3 separate regions of the Homo sapiens genome follow, and all the other regions are linked to region 1. The links are contacts of gene promoters, found by promoter capture Hi-C in blood cells and fetal thymus (Javierre and others, 2016). All regions are on one chromosome and are shown on one strand. Each heading gives the region's core, a stretch centred on a gene start or on the middle of the fragment in contact. The rest is flanking DNA. Distances are from core to core; before and after follow the strand shown. Region 1 holds the start of MAP1LC3B2 (microtubule associated protein 1 light chain 3 beta 2). Region 2 has its middle 26 kb from the start of MIR4472-2. Region 3 has its middle 9.3 kb from the start of MIR4472-2.

Region 1 (2,700 bases), core at 200-2,699:
TTTTGTATTTTTGGTAGAGATGAGGCTTCACCATGTTGGCCAGGCTGGTTTTGAACTCCTGATCTCAAGTAATCCACCCACCCTGGCCTCCCAAAGTACTGGGATTACAGGCATGAGCCACTGCACCCGGACTTAAAGTGGTTTTTAAAAAGTGCCGTGTGAGACTTCCAAATAGTACTCACGGGGAGGGAAATGAAAGGAGAGGATTGGGGAAGAAACACCTTCTATTTTTTTTTTTTTTTTTTTTTTTTAGAGACAGGGTCTTGCTCTGTCACCCAGGCTGCAGCCTGGACCTCTTGGGCTCAAGGGATCCTCCCACCTTAGCCTCCTGTGTAGCTGGGACCACAGGCGTGCACCGCCACACCCAGCTAATTTTTTTTATTTTTTTGCAGAGATGGGGTCTCTCTATGTTGCCCAGGCTGGCCTCAAACTCCTGGGCTCAAGTGATCCTCCCTTCTCGGCCTCCCAAAGTACTGGGATTACAGGGGTGAGCCACCTCACCTGTACAGCTTCTTTGGAGAATGGGCCTGGGCAGGTCAAACAGGGGCCACTCTACACCATCATGGCACAGCAAGAGCTGGGCTATGTAGGTTCAGTATTCTTTGTCATTTAATCCTTGTGACGACCTCGTGTCATCATTGCTGTTTTACAGATAAGGAACTGAGGCTCAGAGAGGTTCAGTGTCACAGCTAGCATTTCACTTACATATCACAGAGCAAAGGCTCTCTTTGTCCAGAGACAACGTGCCTTTAGGTGATAGAGCTAGGACTGGAACCCAAGTCTATCTGACTCAAAGTCCACACAGCTTGTCCCCCATCCCGCAGGGACCTCTCCACGCTAGTGAGCCCCACGAAACCCCCTCAGTGCTTCGTTCCAGTCTTTTACCTTCAAGCCCAGTCAGCGAGTTCTTTATTTCCACAAATGGTGCTATTAAACTAATGGCTTCGGGAGCTATAGGCTGGCCTCGGCACAGTTACACATCTCTCCACCCACCATGTTCTGGCTTCCAAATAAATACATTGGAAATTCCAGGAGCCGAAGCCCATTTGGAAACGTTTCCGGGCCACCATTTTGCTTTGGGATGGGCAAGAAGAGACACCCTAAACTTGAACTCCTGTCTGTGCAGCCTCCAGCCGGCCAGGCGCTAAATAAGGCCACGGCCCGTTTCCTCCTTCAAAAGTCCCTTGTAAAGGGCGATAGCAGACCCCATCAGGCAAAAAGCTGAGAAGCCAGGGTTGAAATAGAGGCCTCTTTCTGTTTGGTCAATCAGCAGCTGCAAAGGATGCGTAGGATGGAGCTAAATTTATTTGTTCCTTTCTTTCTCAGCAACAGCGACGAGGCCCGAGGTGCAGCTGTCTCGCCTCGCCTGTCTTTTGCAGGCACCGGCATGCACAGAAGATGGCTCTCCGGGAGGAAGATTCCTTTCCATTTTGTTCTCTCTCTGCCTCCGCAAGGCTCGCAGCCACCTCTCGGGAGTGCAGGGCCAGATCCTGTGCCAGCGGGTAGGAATATGTAGCTGCCTCCCAGCCCCAGGGTGGAAATCATGACCTTTGAGAAGCAGGCAAGCTGCACGGCATAGATACTCAGGCCTGGTGAAGGCAAAGTGGGGCCACACCCTAGAAAAACCACAAAAGTCCCCACAGCCTCTGCTTTCACTAGTCAGACCTGTGGGAAACTTGTAAGACACAGTCCATGTGATCGGCGGGTGGGGGCATGTTGGGAGGGGCCTTCCGAAGGCCACAGCCAGGCTGGCAGGGCAGAGTCCTTTCCAGAATTTATCTGTTTGCTTAAAGCCCAGCGGAGGGGCCACCTTCAGTCAACCCTCCAGCATACTGGTCCAAGTAGTTTTTTCAAAGTGCTTTGTGAGACTTTCAAAAGGTACCCATGGGGAGGGAAGTGAGAGGAGGAGGAGGGGACGGTGAAGAAACAGCTTCTTTATTTCTAGCCTTGCTTGAATGGCTTCTTGACGGTTACTGCTCCAGTTTTGCTGAGTCAGAAGAATCCCACAGCCGCTCACCGGAAACACAGCTGTTGGGCAAAAATAACCACAGAGCTGAGCATCATGCACCTTCCAGAAAAGATGGCAGAAAACCTCAAAACAAAAGAGAAATACAAAACAATAGGAGACACTGTCAAGAAAAAAAAAACAAAAACAAAAACCACCGCAGCTCACTAACCGATCCAAGCTGGTGGCGCTCTCCTGATCTCTCTCCACTCCCAGGCCCAGCAACGGCTCTGAAATAAAGCTAAGTTTGGCTATATATATATATATATATATATATATATATATATATATATATATATATATATGTATGTATATGTATATATATATATTTAGATAGAGTCTTCCTCTGTCGCCCAGGCTGGAATGCAGTGGCGCGCTCTCGGCTCGCTGCAACCTCTGCCTCCTGGGTTCAAGTGATTCTCCTGCCTCAGCCTTCCGACTAGCTGGGATTACAGGTGCGCCACCACGCCCAGCTAATTTTTGTATTTTTAGTAGAGACGAGGTTTCGCCATGTTGGCCAGGCTGGTCTCGAACTCCTGACCTCAAGTGATCCGCCCACCTCGGCCTCCCAAAGTCTTGGGATTACAGGTGTGAACCATCACATCTGGCCTACTTTTACACTGTAGTGGGTTTAATAGTGTCTCCCCAGTCACACCTCCACCAAAAAAAGAAAAGATATGTCCACAGTCTAATGT
Region 2 (2,700 bases), core at 179-2,678, 100 kb before region 1:
AGGTGGAGGTTGCAGTGAGCTGAGATCGTGCCACTGCACTCCAGCCTGGGTGACAGAGTGAAACTTGGTCTCAAAACAAAGCAACCAACCAACCACCTTATAGGATGTGGTGAGACTTGTAAAGCAAGGGCAGTCAAGTGCTTGGCCCAGGAATAAATAGACATTAAACCCAGCACTTCTCTAGAATCTGAGATGCCTGGCTCCTGATCTAATGGCCTGCACATCCCCTAATTTCTCATCCAGATGCTTTTTCTGTCACCCAGCTGGCTCTAGCTGAGTTACTGGTGTTCCTACTGAGTCTTCCTTACTCTGATCTGAAAGCCTAAGATATGCATCTTACATAAAAATTAGAATCATGGGGCAGCGTGGCTCATGCCTGTAAGCCCAGCACTTTGAGAGGCCGAGGCGGGCGAATCACAAGGTCAGGAGTTCAAGACCAGTATGGCCAACATTGTGAAATCCCATCTCTACTAAAAATACAAAAATTAGCCGGGCATGGTGATATGCATCTGTAATCCTAGCTACTTGGGAGGCTGAGGCAGGAGAATCACTTGAACCATGGAGGTGGAGGTTGCAGTGAGCCGAAATCATGCCACTGCCCTCCAGCCTGGGTGGCAGAGCGAGATTCTGTCTCAAAAAAAAAAAAAGATTCAAAAAAGATTCACGCATCTGGACATATCACTCAGCATGCAGACTGGAGTCCTCTCTTCTCTCCCACATCCTGGCGTCTCTTCTGTCCTCTGGCACACCATCACTGTTGGCCAGCAAGCTGGGTCTCTCATCTCTTCAGCCTTGTCTCCATCCTAGCTCTGTGTCTCTGGGTCAGTACCAATTATCCATACACACATTCATGCATCCCAGGACAAGGCCAAGCTTCTGTCGGGAACACGGACTCCATTTGAAGTCAGGCAGGTAGGGTGGGGATCTGGCCCTTATACCTGGCTGTGGAACCTTGAGTGTGTTACTCAACCCCTCTTGGCCTCAGTTTCTTTATCTGTAAAGCATGGACAGCCATGTTTACCTGTCAGGGCCACCCTGAGTATGAAATGAACTAACAAATGGGAAGCCAGCATGGTTTAATGAACGTGTTCTCCAGGAAGTAGGGGTCAAAAAACAACCCTCTCTATATATTGCAGCAGTGTAAAGAGCCTTATATGCATTCTTCCCATGTTACAGTGGGGACAGGGGCTCAGAGATGTGAAGTGAGCTTCCCAAGGTCACACAGCAAGTGAGCGGAAGGGCTCTGCGCCTAACTTCCCGTACCACCTCAGGCCAGCTCCTTCTCTACTTGGGGCCTCCGTGTCCCCATCATTGTTCAGATGATCTAGAAGCTCTCGTTCTATTCTTTTTCTTTTTTTTTTTTTTCAGACAGAGTCTCACTCTTGTTGCCCAGGCTGGAGTGCAGTGGTGCGGTCTTGGAACATGGGAGGCAACCTTAGCCTCCCAGGTTCAAGCAATTCTCATGCCTCAGCCTCCCAAATGGCTGGGATTATAGGCACTTGCCACCACGCCTGGCTAATTTTTGTATTTTTAGTAAAGACGGGGTTTCACCATGTTGGCCAGGCTGGTCTTGAACTCCTGACCTCAGGTGATCTGCTGCCTCAGACTCCCAAAGTGCTGGGATTACAGGTGTGAGCCAACATGCCTGGCCTCTCGTTCTCTTCTATATCCAGAGTCCTAACTCCCTCATGGTTCATCTCCTGGGAGGGGCGGGGACGGCTTACCCACCTGTCCTTCACCTGGCCTCCTGACCCACAGGCAGTGCCCCCACATCTGTCCCCAAGGCTTCTCTCCCCTCCCTTCCCTCTCTCCTTCCTGCTGCTTAAGAGCATTATTTGCTTCTTGCAAAATGGCCTTATGCTGGGGAGAGCCCCCTCTGCGTCCTACAGGTATTTCTGCTCTTGGCTGACTTGTTTTCACAGTGCCGATCTGACAGTTCTGCAATGGAAATGAGGGTTTTCTGGCATGGTTGTGGCAGGGTGCGGAAGCTTTACTCAGCTCAGACTCATGACAACGATGATTCCTCATAATAAGCCCTCTCATCTGAGTCAGCTACCCAGGAATTCTATAAAATACGTGGGAAGAGGCCCCTGGTGGGAACTTAGATCCCGACGGTCACTCTTCCTGGTGTGGCTGGTCCTGCCTTAGTTACTGCCACCTCCCTCTGCCCTTCACAGCCAATTCCTACTTCTCCTTCAAGTCTGGTCTAAAATGTCACCTCCTTAGAGAGGCCCTCCCAGATTGCTCATGTAAATAGCCTCTTCCCTCCATTCTCATCCTAGCTTCCTGTTTGCTTCCTTCAGCAGACTTAACCCAAATTACAATTTTACACATTCATGTTATTTGCGGGCTGTTAAGTATTAAAGATTCTGAAAGGGGTGGGGCTGGCGTCACGTTTTTCATTGATCCCTGCCCCAGCTCTGTCAGTGTCTAGCACACAGTAGGTACTCCATGCATTTTCGGTGAATGAATAAAAACATTGTTTGGAGCAGTGAGGGAGGCCCGGGGAAGCTGCTTTTTGGCAGTGAGAACACGCGGAGCTGGAGATCCTCCTGCAGGGAGCTGACTTCATCCTTCTTGTTCCCGTCCCAAACCTTGTCCAGAGGCTACAGGGAGGGAACTGTATGTACAACTATCTTTGCAGCTTTTCAGACTTCCGAACAAGCTGCCTTCCCAAGAAAACACATTACCCAGAGGCTT
Region 3 (2,700 bases), core at 174-2,673, 120 kb before region 1:
TGTTAGCTGCTACTAATGCAGGGCGAGTTTCACAGGCATGAGATCAGTGCCCACACAGGGGCTGGCGCTTAGAAGGGTAATGCTCTCTCGAAGCTCTGCTGTCACCAACTTGAACTTCGTAATAATTTTTGCACAAGGGACTCTGCATTTTCATTTCGCCCCGGGCTGCACAAATTGTGCAGCTGTCCCTGCTGTGTATCTTACAGGAGCAATTGCCTGCTTCTCCCTCCTCCTCTCTCAACTCTGAACTCCTTGGGATGTAAGATTCAGCTAACTCATCTAGCTCTACATCCACCCCTAGCCCATGCCCGGCCTGCAGCAGGTGCTCACATTCTGGTTGGGAGCGACAGAGGTGAGCAGAGCCACAGCTGTTGTTCCTGCCCCCACAGCCCCCTAAACACCCCAAGAATAGCTTCTAGCCCAGGGAGCCTCGGGAACTGCCTGAGAACAAAACTTTCCCGAAGGTGCAGACTCTGGCCAGCGGCCATGGAACCAGGCCTTTCCAGGACGATTGGTGCAACCAGGGGAACTTGCAGCTCTCTGCAAAAGGGGAATCCTAGCCAGGCCCGAAAGACCCTAATCAATAGTTCATTAAGATGCCAGCTCAGAAAATGCAGGGAGACCCAGCATAACGTGTAATTCTGCCTGCGTGGGCTGGTGCTGGGCAGGGTTTTCGCAAGCTGGCAGGGCCCGCAGATAACACTGAGCCCAAAGTGCAGGCTGCAGTCCGAGCACAAGGCAAACACGACCCTCCCTAAGTGGCAGATGTGATTCAGTCCAAAGGTTCAAGTGCGGCAGTTACATTGGTTATGAGATTTTTTCCCCCTTTATACCAGGAGCTGGCAGTGTGGGGGAGGGGGAGAAACCAACACTTGTTGAGCACCTACTATGTGTCTGACTCTGAGCTGGACACACATTAGGAGAAAGGGGTTCAGGACCAGGCAAAAAGTGGGTTTGGGTATTTCTGGGGGTGGAGTTGGACATCATTCCTCTTTCCTGCCTCCCTGACGCGTCCTCCATTCATAATAACTGATTTTTTAAAAAACTGAAGCAAAATGCAATAGCAAAATAGACCGTTGTTGGCCAGGTGCGGTGGCTCACGCCTGTAATCCCAGCACTTTGGGAAACCAAGGTGGGCAGATCACCTGAGGTCAGGAGTTTGAGACCAGTCTAGCCAACATAGTGAAACCCCGTCTCTACTAAAAATGCAAAAATTAGCCAGGTGTGGTGACGCACGTCTATAGTCCCAACTACTCAGGAGGCTGAGGCAGGAGAGTCACTTGAACCCAGAAGGTAGAGGTTGCAGTGAGCTGAGATTGTGCCACTGCACTCCAGCCTGGGCAACAGAGCAAGACTCTGTCAAGAAAGAAGGAAGGAAGGAAGGAAGGGGAAGAAAAAAAGACAGAAAGGTACAACACAGTGGCATTTACTACATTCCCAGGATTCTGCAACCACCACCTCTATCAAGTTCCAAAATATTTCTGTCACTGCAGAAGGAAACCCTAAACCCGCTATCTTTCATTCACTCGTTCTGCTCCTATTCTCTCCCCTCCCTGCCCCTCTCCCTGTCGACCCTGGCAACCACTCACTCATGTGCTTTCCGTCTCTATGGATTTACCTATGCTGGACACTTCATAGAAATGGAATTATACAATTTGCAACCTTTGGTTTCTGGCTTCCTTCACTTCTTCAGCATGATGTTGCTAGATTCATCCATGGCATGGCGTGTGTCAATACTTCATTCCTTTACTGCCAAATCATATTCCGTTGCATGGCTATGCCACGATTTGCTCATCTTCCCATTCAACGATGGCCATTTAGGTCACGTCCACCTTTTGGTTTTTATGAATAATACTATGTACATTACACTTGCTATGTGTACACGTTTCTATATGGACATATGTTTTTGACTCTCGGGTGTATATCTGGGATATCTGGGAGTGGGATTGCTGGGTCTTAGGGCAACTGTATGTTTAGCATTTTCAGGAACTCCCAAACTGTTTCTGAAGGCAACTGCACCATGTGACATTCCCCCACCAGTGTAACATGTGTAACACGTGGGAATGCAGCATGGAAGGAATGTACAAGGGTTCTGATTCTTCACACCCTCACCAACACTTATTATTTTGTTTGTTTCATAATCACCAATTTTTCATGCCGGTGGAGATGAGGCCCTGTCTGCCACGGGGTCTTGTGCACAGAGCCATGTCTTCCAGATTTGCAGGAGAGCCCTACAGAAGCCAGACTGCAAGAAGAGCAATTTGAGTCCTGCCAGAAAGAATCTTTTTTTTTTTTTTTTTTTTTGAGACGGAGTCTCGCTCTGTCGCCCAGGCTGGAGTGAAGTGGTGCGATCTCGGCTCACTGCAAGCTCCACCTCCTGGGTTCACACCATTCTCCTGCCTCAGCCTCCCCAGCAGCTGGGACTACAGGCGCACGCTGCCATGCCCAGCTACTTTTTGTATTTTTTTAAGTAGAGACAGGGCTTCACCGTGTTAGCCAGGATGGTCTCGATCTCCTGACCTCGTGATCCACCCGCCTTGGCCTCCCAAAGTGCTGGGATTACAGGCGTGAGCCACTGCGCCCGGCCCAAGAATTAATCTTACATGGAAGAGCCCGATAGACTGAGAAGCTCCGGGCTGCACTGGTCTTAAAGGGCCTGCCTCCGGGTGGTATGTAGGTGCCTTGGGGAGAACGTGGCTG

Evidence for each region. The method cuts DNA at HindIII sites, captures the fragments that hold promoters and counts their contacts. A CHiCAGO score of 5 or more calls a contact.
Region 2: a contact is called between a fragment that was not itself captured here and the fragment with the promoter of MAP1LC3B2 in region 1, in 3 of 17 cell types (naive B cells, total B cells and M1 macrophages). The highest score is 5.2, in naive B cells.
Region 3: a fragment that was not itself captured here is called in contact with the fragment with the promoter of MAP1LC3B2 in region 1 in 4 of 17 cell types (M0 macrophages, neutrophils, naive B cells and 1 more); the score reaches 5.5 in M0 macrophages.

What each region holds. Positions count from the first base shown.
Region 1 is chr12:116,557,932-116,560,631 of GRCh38, forward strand. It overlaps MAP1LC3B2 (microtubule associated protein 1 light chain 3 beta 2), which reads left to right and starts at 1,450. Exons shown (of 2, transcript NM_001085481.3): 1 at 1,450-1,502. RefSeq lists enhancers at 945-1,454, 1,294-1,633, 1,854-1,903, 1,944-2,043. The HindIII fragment of the contact is 18,876 bases long and covers 1-2,700 here.
Region 2 is chr12:116,453,069-116,455,768 of GRCh38, forward strand. No RefSeq gene overlaps it. Among named protein-coding and RNA genes, the nearest start is that of MIR4472-2, 26 kb to the left of the region's middle. RefSeq lists an enhancer at 1,577-2,115. The HindIII fragment of the contact is 1,115 bases long and covers 872-1,986 here.
Region 3 is chr12:116,436,309-116,439,008 of GRCh38, forward strand. No RefSeq gene overlaps it. Among named protein-coding and RNA genes, the nearest start is that of MIR4472-2, 9.3 kb to the left of the region's middle. The HindIII fragment of the contact is 5,987 bases long and covers 1-2,700 here.